Linked DNA regions of Homo sapiens: regions 1 and 3 are each linked to region 2. Evidence: promoter capture Hi-C in 16 types of primary human blood cells and fetal thymus (Javierre and others, 2016). All regions are on one chromosome and are shown on one strand. Each heading gives the region's core, a stretch centred on a gene start or on the middle of the fragment in contact. The rest is flanking DNA. Distances are from core to core; before and after follow the strand shown. Region 1 holds the start of BLOC1S1 (biogenesis of lysosomal organelles complex 1 subunit 1). Region 2 holds the start of PYM1 (PYM1 exon junction complex associated factor). Region 3 has its middle 6.0 kb from the start of TMT1B.

Region 1 (2,588 bases), core at 89-2,588, 210 kb after region 2:
AGAGGGTGGGAGGCAGAGGAGAGGGTGGTAAGCTGTAATGAAGGAGGGTGCTCTCCCTCCTGCTGAAGTGACAGCTGGACTTGGAAGGGTGAAGGGAGGTGGGCAGATGGCATCAAGTTGTAAATGCCAGGGAAGTTAACGTGGGGAAGGGGAAATCTGGCTGCTTCTCTAACCACGGCAGCTGTTCCTCCCTTGCCCAGTGCTAGGACTCAGAGTTGACTCAAGTTGCTCTACAAAGAGCTGGGAGGGGCGGGGTAGGATAGGGGAATTAGTGGAACATCCCACCCCTTCAACAGCTATTTGAGGGCCAGACTGGCCAGTGCCTAAACTTGGGCGGGGTGGGGAAGGAGGAAACTGATGTTGATAAGAGGTCCATACCCCACATTGAGGTGATCCACCAAAGCTTCTGTCAGGCAGGTCGCTGCAGTGATAGCCTCTCGCCTCCTCTTTTCTGGGGAGAGGGGGAAAAGGAATTGGAGGGGAGACTTGGTTTTTTGAGGGGTAGTGTTAAAGGTTCCCTACCCATCCATTACTATTCTGCTAGTTGCCGAAATTTCTTAACTAATCTCTGAATGCCGGAGCTGAAAAGGACCTTGCAAAACATAGCGCAACCTCTTTCATTTTAGAGATGAGGAAACTGGTACCCTGGGAGGGAAATGGACTCACTCAGGGACGCCAGGAAGTCAGCGGCAGCGCCCAGGACTCCTGACTCCCAGGCACTCTTTCTCCACTACTCGGCCGCAGAATCGGTAACTCCGAGATTTCCAGCCCGGACTCAGGAAACAAGTGCCCCACCTCCGTTCCGGTGGTTTCAGGCCTCCAAGAAGCCCATCTCTGGGGGGTTCCCCACACCCTCCTCCCTCCAGAGTCGCTCCTTCCCGCCGCCAGGACGAGAGGCTCCCAGGGCCAATAGGCAGGGCGCTCCGGGGCAGGGGCGGGGCTAAGGTGCGGCAGGTCGGGGATTGGGGGCGTTGCCGAGGGGACCGGAGTATTGCCCAAGGGACCGGAGCCAGTTGGCAAGGGAAAGGAGTTTCAAAAAAAGCCTCTCTGAAATTCCCTCTCCCCCATGCCCGTTGCCCGCTAGCTGGCGTCTTTCCCTGGATATGGTTAGTTACTCGAGATCCAGGCTCCGGGCTGAAGCTAGGCCGCGGCCGAAGAGAAAACGGCCGACAGGATATTTGGCTCACCCTGCAGCTCCTTGCGTTCATTCTGCTTGGCCTGGTGTTCTTTTAGGAGGCGGGACAGCATGGTCACGTCGGGCTGGGGGCTGGGTACGCCGGGCCCCCTCCGGCTCCGGAAGCTGGAACGCTCACCTCGGCTCCCCGGGGCCATGTCACGTGACCGCTGTGTCACGTGAGGTTGGGAACCGCCCTCTTGAGACCTTGGGTGAAGATCTTGGCGGGGAAGAGAGGTAGAGGGTTGCGGAGGGCAGGTGAAGTGTTCTTTATTGGGAGCTTAGTTTTTGGTGAGTGTTGGAAGAAGTATTTTCTAATACTTATATTGCCAAGCCAGTTTTTAACATTTCCTGTGGATCTCAGGCTTCGAGGGCTGGTGGTGTCAGGCCGTCTATCACCGTTTAATTGAGGGAGCAGAAGCTCCCTGGCCTCATTTAAATTATTCTCCTTCCCTCTCCTCACCTCCTGGCAGTGCTAGCTGGTTCTCAGTTGATTCCCAGTTCCTTCCCTCAAGGAGAGGATGCTTTCCTGTCTCTCCCAACCCTCTTTCTTCTCACTACCCCACTGAAGTCTCTCAGCTCTGGGTGATCATTGTAGAGAAGCATTTTAGGCACTTCAGACAGCCTCCTAGGGAGCTTGGCTAACTTGGCGGGCTGTGTGAATGTAGAATTTCATCTCTGTCCTTTTGTGGTCAGGAATGCGAACCCATTTCAGTGTTAGCAGAAGCGTAAGTGCTGTGCCAAAGTAAAAAGTAATTTATATAAGGCCTCTGTGAACTAAAAAGAAATGCTTCCGGGATTAACTCCAGCGAGAACAATTATAAACATCATGAGCATATTCTTGCTACTGGTACAATCTCTCTCGGTGCACCTTGCACTAACATGTTGGGTGACTTTGGGCAAGTTGCTCACCATTCTAGGTTATAGTTTTCTCTTTAGTAAAACTAGGAGAAGGGATTGGATTAAATCGGTGGTTCTCAACCCTGGCTAAGCATTAGAATCTAAACATTAGAATCACAGAAATCACAAGGCTTATAAAAATGCCGTGATTAGCCGGGTGCGGTGGCTCACGCCCGTAATCCCAGCACTTTGGGAGGCCGAGGCGGGCGGATCACGAGGTCAGGAGTTCGAGACCAGGCTGACCAACATGGTGAAACCTTGTATCTACTAAAAATACAAAATTTAGCCAGGCGTAGTGGCACAAGCCTGTAATCCCAGCTACTCAGGAGCCTGAGGCAGGAGAATCGCTTGAACCTGGGAGGCAGAGGTTGCAGTGAGCCGAGATCACGCCACTGAACTCCAGCCTGGGCGACAGAGTGGGACTCTGTCTCAAAAAAAAAAAAAAAAAAGCCTTGATTCCAGACTAATTAAATAGAATCTAAGGAGTGAAGACCAAACATCACTATATATATGT
Region 2 (4,089 bases), core at 166-2,665:
CCCACACTCTCACGTCTAATCATAACAAGGTTAAGGACAAGATGTTAGACCCTGCAGGGCTGAAGTACAATCGGTGAAAAGAGAGCAAGGGTTTAAGACCACAGTGTCACAACACTTGCAATAACAGTGTATCGTATGCAAATACTTTTTATTTATTTATTTTGAGACTGAGTCTTGCTCTATAATACAAGCTGGAGTGCAGTGGCACGATCTTGGCTCACTGCAACCTCCACCTCCCAGGTTCATTCCTCAGCCTCCCGAGTAGCTGGGATTACAGGCACTCGCCACCACACCCGGCTAATTTTTGTATTTTTAGTAGAGATGGGATTTCACCATGTTGGCCATGGCTGGTCTCGAACTCCTGACCTCAAGTGATCTGCCCACCTGGGCCTCCCAAAGTGCTGGGATTACAGGCATGAGACACCGCACCCGGCCTGGAAATACTTTTTAAATGAGCCCCACCCCCAGACATTCTGAATTGGCCTCTAGTGGAAGTCACAGACATGGAGGATGGGAAGGAAGGCAAGCTGCGGCCCCCAGAAAACTTCTGAGGCCTAATTTGTCTTATAAAGGTCCTAGTCAGCCATTGCTCAGTTTTTTAGTTTTTTTTTTTTTTTTTTTTTTTTTTTTTTGAGACGGGGTCCCACTCTGTCGTCCAAGCTGGAGTGCAGTGGAGCGATCTTGGCTCACTGCAACCTCCGCCTCCCAGATTCAAGAAATTCTCTGCCTCAGCCTCCCGAGTAGCTGAGATTACAGGCACCCGCCACCACGCCCGGCTAATTTTTTTGTATTTTTAGTAGAGACGGGGTTTCGCCATCTTGGCCAGGTTGGTCTTGAACTCCGGACCTCGTGATCCACCCGCCTTGGCCTCCCAAAGTGCTGGGATTACAGGCGTGAGCAACCGCGCCTGGGTTTTGTTTTGTTTTTTAAATGGGACATGCTGCCTAGTGTTGGAGGTAGTCACCAATACTTACCTCCTGCCTCCTCCCTGGTTCCAGGGGTACTGCTGGACATTAAACTAAGCCAAAGTGGGGATATAAGCAGGAAGGTAAAAGGGTTGATAAGGAAAAAGCTATATGAGGGTGGAGGAGGGCAGAGTTGACACCTGAGGAGAGGAACCTGCAGCCGGGCTCCTCTCAGGCTGTAGGGGAAACAAGTTTAACAGGACTTAGCCCTGAAGGAACAACAGTTGCTGAAATGGGCGGCGGAGGGAGACCATATGGGTTCGTCTGCAGAATAGGGAGGTACGGCGCAGGGCAGGACTACAAATGGAGTGACACTACGGGACCGGATTATTGGCGAGTTGCCCCGCTTTAGATCCTCAGCGGTTGGACGAGTTTAATTAGAATACTAAGTAGGTCCGCCCAGAAGCTTTCACCCTGCCCTCTGACCCTAGGGCCCAGCCCGAGGAGGCACTCAGGGTTAGGAGGTCTGGGCGAGAAGCAACTAGGGCCCTCATCACTTCGCCGCCGAATCCCCGGCGCCGCCCAGCGGGGCAGAGCCAGGCCAGGGCCGCCCGCCCAACCTGGTCCGCTGCCTCTTCGGCCATGGAAGCTGCCGGCAGCCCTGCGGCTACGGAGACAGGTGACCGACCCGCGGCGCCCTCCGCCTTGCACGCCCCTCCCGCGGGTCTCTGGTGGTTGAGTGGGTTGGCCGACAGCAATCGGCACACGAATTCGACCTCCCCACCTTCTTAGGGTTAGATAGGGTCTCCAACCGTCCCTAGAAACACTTGTGCGCCCCAGTGCGTTCCTGGAGTTTGTCTGCTCCACGTCACCAAGCCGCTCTGAGATCTGGGTGCAGGCCAGAGCCTGGATATTCTTCCTTTCTTCATTTATAAGGCCCCCTTTTTGGGTGCAGGTGGGCCTTGCGCCCTTTTCCCTCGCAGGTCCTGGACGTACGAGGAGTTCCTGGGGATGAGAGGGACTGTGCCTCGGAACTTCTCTTGGCTCCCTGAGGACTGTTTTACAGGCAGCAAGCGCTCAGTAATGGTATCGGTGGCAGTAAAAAGCCCACGGCTTTATTTTATTAACTATTTCAGCTTCTCCACTCTTCCTCCTCCTCCACCTCCGCCCATGAAATGGTGCACTCTCCCTTTAAGACTAAGATGGTGGCTTGCTACGATCGGGACTCCACTTCCGGTGGGGAGGGGGGCGGGACCCCAGCCCGCTCACGCCGGAAGTGGTTTGCGTTTTCAAGATGGCGACTCCCTATGTTACTGACGAGACCGGCGGTGAGTGCGGGAGGCGCGGAGCCGCTTCTCTCCGGGCTCTCGGGGCAGGGGTTCGGACTTGGAAAGGGGTCTGTGCCCCGCCCATCCCGGGGCCCCTCCTTTGCCCCGCCCCCCGGACCGCCTTCCCCATTCATTCTCTCCTACGGGGTGTCTCCTGCGCCCCCTTCTGGTCTCGTGTTTGGGGTCTCTGCTTCCGGTCACCCAAACCCTGGGGTCCTTCAGTGCTGGTCCCTGCTTCAGGACCCTCACGGGCCCTTAGCTTTTCTCCAGCAGTTGGACCACTCATATCTCTTTTAGGTTCTTCAGGCTTGGGGGCTTCTACACTCTCATTTCCCTCCAGTTCCTGCCCTCCTTCTTTTCCCCTCCCCCATCTCAGCTATACTTGGTTTCTGCCCTACCCCAGTCCCGTTTTCATTATTTTTCTCGAAGCTTTATTTGCTGAAGACCTCCTCGTTTCTACATAGTACCTTTTCCTCTCCCGTATCTTCATTTGTTGGGTCACTGAGGTTTAGAGGTGTGAAGGGAAGAGGACCCTAATACAACTTTCAGCTTGAGTTTTCTCCCTGATGGAGCCACCCTTCGCTACCTTCTCCCGTGATGGTGATAGAAATTGAGGGGTCTAAGGTGGGAAAAGGCAAACAGGAAAGTATCTAGTGGCTTTTCTCCGAAGCCCTTTGACAAGTGAATAAAACCCACTATTCCTTCTGGCTAGAGAAGAATTTGCAGCCTGGCTGGCCGAGATGCTGAAGTGTCTGCTGTGTATGTAAGGTGTATGTGTTGGAAACGGAGAATCACAGCTTTTATCATGGTTTTGTCCCTTCCTAATGGCCTCATCTTTAGGAAAATATGCATAGTAGTAATAGCTACTCAATGATGATCAAATAATATATGTAAAAGCAATTTATAAAATACTGTGCAAGTGCAAAGTGTTTCTGTTTTTGTAGCCCTCATATGTGTAGTCTGTAGTCTGTAGAAGCAACAGTGTGCCTGTGCCTTGGTACACACGGTGTTTTAAAATGTGCCATTTTGCTTCTTGCTCTGCTGCTTTCCATGTTCCTTACACCTCAGCCCACCTATTTTATGGTATCTGATGACAACCCAGGTTGCTGCTACTTCTCCCCAACCTCACAATTTAAAGTGGTACTACCTCTTTCCTTCTGTTCTCTACCCAGTAGCTCCTTCATGAATTACCAACTTTTAATGTGTGTTTTGAAAATACTACTTATCCAGTATACTTCTCTTTACTCTTAATCATTTTCTTTACCCTGACTCCGTGAAAATCCAGGTATCACATCTTACCTTACCTTGTCACTAAAAGCTGTTTTCTGTTTTCCGTGACTATGTGGAAGAGAAAAAGGAATAAACTGCTTTTTTGTTTTCCTTTACTATGTCCAGATCATTGATCTACCACTGTCACTCTAATCCTCATGGAAGGTATTGCCATGCAATTATAGCAGTTTCTGTAAAACTTTAGTGTCATCATTTACTGCCCACAGGGACCCAGACCTATTGCATCATATTTTTTTCTCTCCTTTTTTTCTTGCTATCATTTTCAGTGTCTCCAGCACCATTGGAATATTCTGATTTCATAGTTCCTCAGCATGAGACGGTCGACTTTCCTTTGTATTTTCAAACCAGTTGCACATCAGAATCACTACAACCTGGATCTCATCTAGGACACCGCTTTTTCTTCAGCTGCTCCCCATCACTTTAGCCTCCTTACCAGTCACCTATTTCACTATCTTAAACCCACAGGATCAGCTTTTTGTCCTCAAGTTCTCTGGTTCTTGACCTTCCCATTTCATTGAATCTGTCAGTACCTTATGGCCTTTGGTGCTGCCCAGCTAGACCTCTGT
Region 3 (4,328 bases), core at 1,466-3,965, 250 kb after region 2:
GTGCTGGGATTGCAGGCGTGAGCCACCATGCCTGGCCAGACACACATATATATTTTTTTAAATTTTCTTTTTTTAATTACACTTTAAGTTCTAGGGTACATGTGCACAACGTGCAGGTTTGTTACATATGTATACATGTACCATGTTGGTGTGCTGCACCCATTAGCTGGTCATTTACATTAGGTATATCTCCTAATGCTATCCTTCCCCCCACCCCACCCCACGACAGGCCCCAATGTGTGGTGTTCCCCACCCTGCAGATACACAGATTTTCAATTGTGAGGGGTATCAGTCCCCTAGGTCCTGAGTTGTTCAAGGGTCAACTGTACAGCCATGTGCTGCATAACACATTTAGCTCAATGACAGAGCACATATATGATGGAGGTACCATAAGATTATTATGTAGCTGAAAAATCCCTGTCCTGTAGTGATGTCTTGATGATCCTGACCTTGTGTAGACCTAGGCTAATGTGTGTCTTTGTGTCTTAGCTTTTAACAAAAAAGTTAAAAAAATTTAAAAAATAGAAAAAGCTTATAGAATAAGGATATAAAGAAATAAAATATTTTTGTACAGCTGTAGAATATTTATGTTTTAAGCTAAGTGTTATTACAAGAGTCAAAGTTAAAAAAATTAAAAAGTTTATAAAGTAAAAAAGTTGCAGTAAGCTAAGGCTAGTTTATTATTGAAGAAAAGAAAAAAAAAATGTAAATAAATTTAGTGTAGTCACTCACTGACTCACCCAGAGCAACTTCTTGTCCTGCAAAGTCCATTCATGATATGTGCCCTATATAGGTATGCCGTTTTTAAATCTTTTATACTGTATTTTTTACCACACCTTTTCCACGTTTAGATACATAAATACTTAACATGGTGTTACAATTGCCTATAGTATTGAGTACAGTAACATGCTGTACAGGCTTGCAGCCTAGGAGCAATAGGTTACGCCATATAGCCTAGCTGTATAGTAGGCTACACCATCCAAGCTTGTGTAAGGACACTCTATGATGATGTTCCCGTAATGGTAAAATCACCTAACGATGCATTTCTCGGAACTTATTCCTGTTGTTAAGCAACATATGACTTAACATGTGACTGTATATTCAGAGTTGTGCAACCAGCCACCACAATCAATTTTAGAACATTTTCGTTACCCCAAAAGAAACTTGTGCTTTTACCACTTACTCCCATTTCCCCCATCCCCATCCCAACCCCAGTACCATCAATTTCCTTTCCGTAGGCAATCACTACTCTACTTATGTCTGTATGGATTTACTTATTCTTGACATTTCATGTAATTGGAATCATACTACATGTGGCCTATGTGACTGGCTTTTCACACAGCATAATGCTTCCAAAGTTTACACATGTTGTAGCATGTATCAATACTTCATTCCTTTTACGTCCAAGTAGCATTGCATTGTACAGATATGCCACATTTTGTTTATTTATTCAACAGTTGATAGACATTTGGGTTGTTTCCACTTTTGGGGTACTATAAACAATGCTGCTATGAATTCTTGTCTTCATTTTATCTTTCTTTCTCCTAAATCATTAATCTCTGCCTTTCCATGGATCTTTCAAAATATGAATATGCTCTAATATATTTCAGGTTAATAATAAACTGACCCTCTTGACACCACATGTCACTTTAGCTAAAACTCCATTTTACAAATCTATGTCAAAGTCTTTTTTTTTTGGCAGGATCTTGCTCTGTTGCCTAGGCTGGAGTGCACCATTCTGACTCACTGCAGCCTCAAACTCCTGGGGTTGTGCTGCCCTTCCTGCTTCAGCCTCTTGAGTAGCTAGGACTATAGGTGCATACCACCATGCCTACTAACTTTTAAAAATTTTTGTAGAGACAGGGTATCTCTCAGGGTTGCCCAGGCTGATCTTGAACTCCTGGCCTCAAGCCATCCTCCTGTCTTGGTCTCCCAAAGTGCTGGGATTACAGGCGTGAGCTACTGTGCCAAGCCCAAGAAATTTTTATTAGTGATGGATTGGAGTGGGAGAAAGAGTGAATGGAAGGTGAGGAAACCAAGATAACACGAGCAGATGACTCAAGAATTATGACTTTGGGCGGGCGTGGTGGCTCGTGCCTGTAATCCAAGTACTTTGGGAGGCCGAGAGGAAATGACTGCTTGAGCCCAGGAGTTTGAGACCAGCTTGGGCAACATAGGCTGTTGTTTTTCTCTACAAAAAATAAAAAAATTAGCCAATTAGCCGGGTGTGGTGGCATGCGCCTGTAGCCCCAGCTACTTAGGAGGCAGAGGCAAGGGGATTGCTTGAGCCTGCAAGTTCAGGGTTACAGTGAACCATGACTGGGTCAGTGTACTCCAGCCTGGGAGACAGAGAGAGACCCTGTCTCTAAAAACAAAACAAAACAAAACAAAGAAACCCGAAACTATTATTATCAAGCCTATTAATTATTTCCACATGCCAGGTCCAGTGAATATTCCCTGTTCTCATCTTATCTGACTTTTCAACAGCTTCAGAAATAGTTGGCTACTATTTCTTCTTGAAAAATTCTCTCATCTAGGCTGTCCTAACATAACAGTCTTCTTGTTTCTATAACATTCCCGTGGCTGTTACTTCTTAGAAACTTCTTTTTTTAGATCTTTCTCATCTACTCGACCTTTAAATTTTGTTTCTTTGGGTTTAGTCTTGGGTCTTTCTCTGTCTAAATTCTCTCATTAAATAACCTCATCTTTTTTTTTTTAATATAGACTTTATTTTTTAGAGCAGTTTTAGCTTCATAGAAAAGTTGAGGAAAGTACAGAGATTTTCCACATACCCTTTGTCCTCACACATGACTAGCCTTCCTCATTATCAGTATCCCCCACCAGAGTGGACATTTATTACAATTGATGAACCTACATTGACACATAATTTTCACCAAATCCCATCCATTTTCATGGTTTAAAATGCCATGTATATGCAAATTATTCACACATTTATATCTTTAGTGCAGATCCTTCCTTTGAGTTTCAAATTTGTATACCCAGTTGTGTACTTGATCCTCCTCCTCAGCATATCTTCTGGACATATAAAACTTAACATGTCCAAAATGACACTTACGGTACTCCCCAAGTCTCTTGTCTTACTCTGCCCATCTTCTTCATCATCTCAGTGAATGGCACCATTAGCTTCTTGATTGCTCAACCAAAAACCTAGGATTTATTCTATTTCTTCTCTGTCTCCTCCTTTTCTTTTCTCATTTCTAACTTTGTATAATGGAGAATTTTGAATATACACAAAAGTTGGCAGAACAGTATAAGATACCCCCATGTATACATCATTCATCCCAACAACTATCAACCCACAGCCAATCCTTCCCCATCCACATCCTTTTCTACTTTCTGCTTCCTTCTCCTGTGTGTCATTTTGAAGCAAATCCCAAACATCATGTCATTTCATCTCCATCTGTATCTCTCTATAACATATATATGACTTTCTTTTCTTTTCTTTTTTTTTGAGGCAGAGTCCCGCTCTTTTGCTAGGCTGGAGTGCAGTGGGGCGATCTCGGCTCACTGCAACCTCCGCCTCCTGGGTTCAAGCAATTCTCCTGCCTCAGCCTCCTGAGTAGCTGGGACTACAGGCACGCACCACCACACCCAGCTAATTTTTGTATTTTTAGTAGAGACAGGGTTTCACCATGTTGACCAGGATGGTCTCGATCTCTTGACCTCGTGATCTGCCTGCCTTGGCCTCCAAAAGTGCTGGGATTACAGGTGTGAGCCACCGCGCCCGGCCAATATATATATAACTTTCAAGTTACTCACAAGTCCTGTCAGCTCTATTTCCCAGTTCATTAATTTCATGCATTTCTTTCATCTCCACTGGCATAACCCTAGACCAGATCATGACCCTCCGCTGCCTGGCCCACTGCAAGGGCCTCATTAACTGTCTCTCCACTTTCACCCACTGCTTAAAACCTTTTAGTGGATTCCCATTATCTTTGGTACAAAATCTGAACTCCTTACTGTAGCCCATAAGGCCCTGTGTGATCTGGCCCCTGTCCACCTCTCATGCTACCCTCCCTTAACCCTGTGTTTTAGCTATACAATCTTCTTTCAGTTCCTCATACTCTCACTCCTTTTAGCTTCAGTGCTGTTGAGCTTGTCTTCCTCTTCCTGATATGCTTGCTTTCTTTTCAGCAGTCCCTCCTCCCTCCTGCCTAGTTAATTTTTTAACTCATTGTTTGGTTCTTGTATCAAGCATCCCTTCCCTTATTCATTTTGGTCAACAGCCCTTAGGCCAGTTTGTGATACTGTTCATGACTGTTATTATGGTATTAGTGTCTGCCCATGAGCTCCATAACAGTAAGGAT

The links. The method cuts DNA at HindIII sites, captures the fragments that hold promoters and counts their contacts. A CHiCAGO score of 5 or more calls a contact.
Region 1: a contact is called between the fragment with the promoter of BLOC1S1 here and the fragment with the promoter of PYM1 in region 2, in 12 of 17 cell types (megakaryocytes, endothelial precursors, erythroblasts and 9 more). The highest score is 8.1, in megakaryocytes.
Region 3: a contact is called between a fragment that was not itself captured here and the fragment with the promoter of PYM1 in region 2, in 3 of 17 cell types (naive B cells, M2 macrophages and total B cells). The highest score is 5.5, in naive B cells.

The regions. Positions count from the first base shown.
Region 1 is chr12:55,714,796-55,717,383 of GRCh38, reverse strand. BLOC1S1 (biogenesis of lysosomal organelles complex 1 subunit 1) reads right to left here and starts at 1,338. Exons shown (of 4, transcript NM_001487.4): 1 at 1,188-1,338; 2 at 379-451. The coding sequence starts at 1,332. BLOC1S1-RDH5 (BLOC1S1-RDH5 readthrough) reads right to left here and starts at 1,350. Exons shown (of 6, transcript NR_037658.1): 1 at 1,188-1,350; 2 at 379-451. It also overlaps a transcript of ITGA7 not described here. RefSeq lists enhancers at 634-873, 1,154-1,293. The HindIII fragment of the contact is 4,864 bases long and covers 406-2,588 here.
Region 2 is chr12:55,925,220-55,929,308 of GRCh38, reverse strand. PYM1 (PYM1 exon junction complex associated factor) reads left to right here and starts at 1,415. Exons shown (of 3, transcript NM_032345.3): 1 at 1,415-1,584. The coding sequence starts at 1,548. It also overlaps a transcript of DGKA not described here. RefSeq lists enhancers at 1,144-1,724, 1,804-1,973, 2,014-2,233, 1,725-2,305 and a silencer at 2,324-2,473. The HindIII fragment of the contact is 1,291 bases long and covers 1,374-2,664 here.
Region 3 is chr12:55,673,606-55,677,933 of GRCh38, reverse strand. No RefSeq gene overlaps it. Among named protein-coding and RNA genes, the nearest start is that of TMT1B, 6.0 kb to the left of the region's middle. RefSeq lists an enhancer at 4,177-4,316. The HindIII fragment of the contact is 3,457 bases long and covers 987-4,328 here.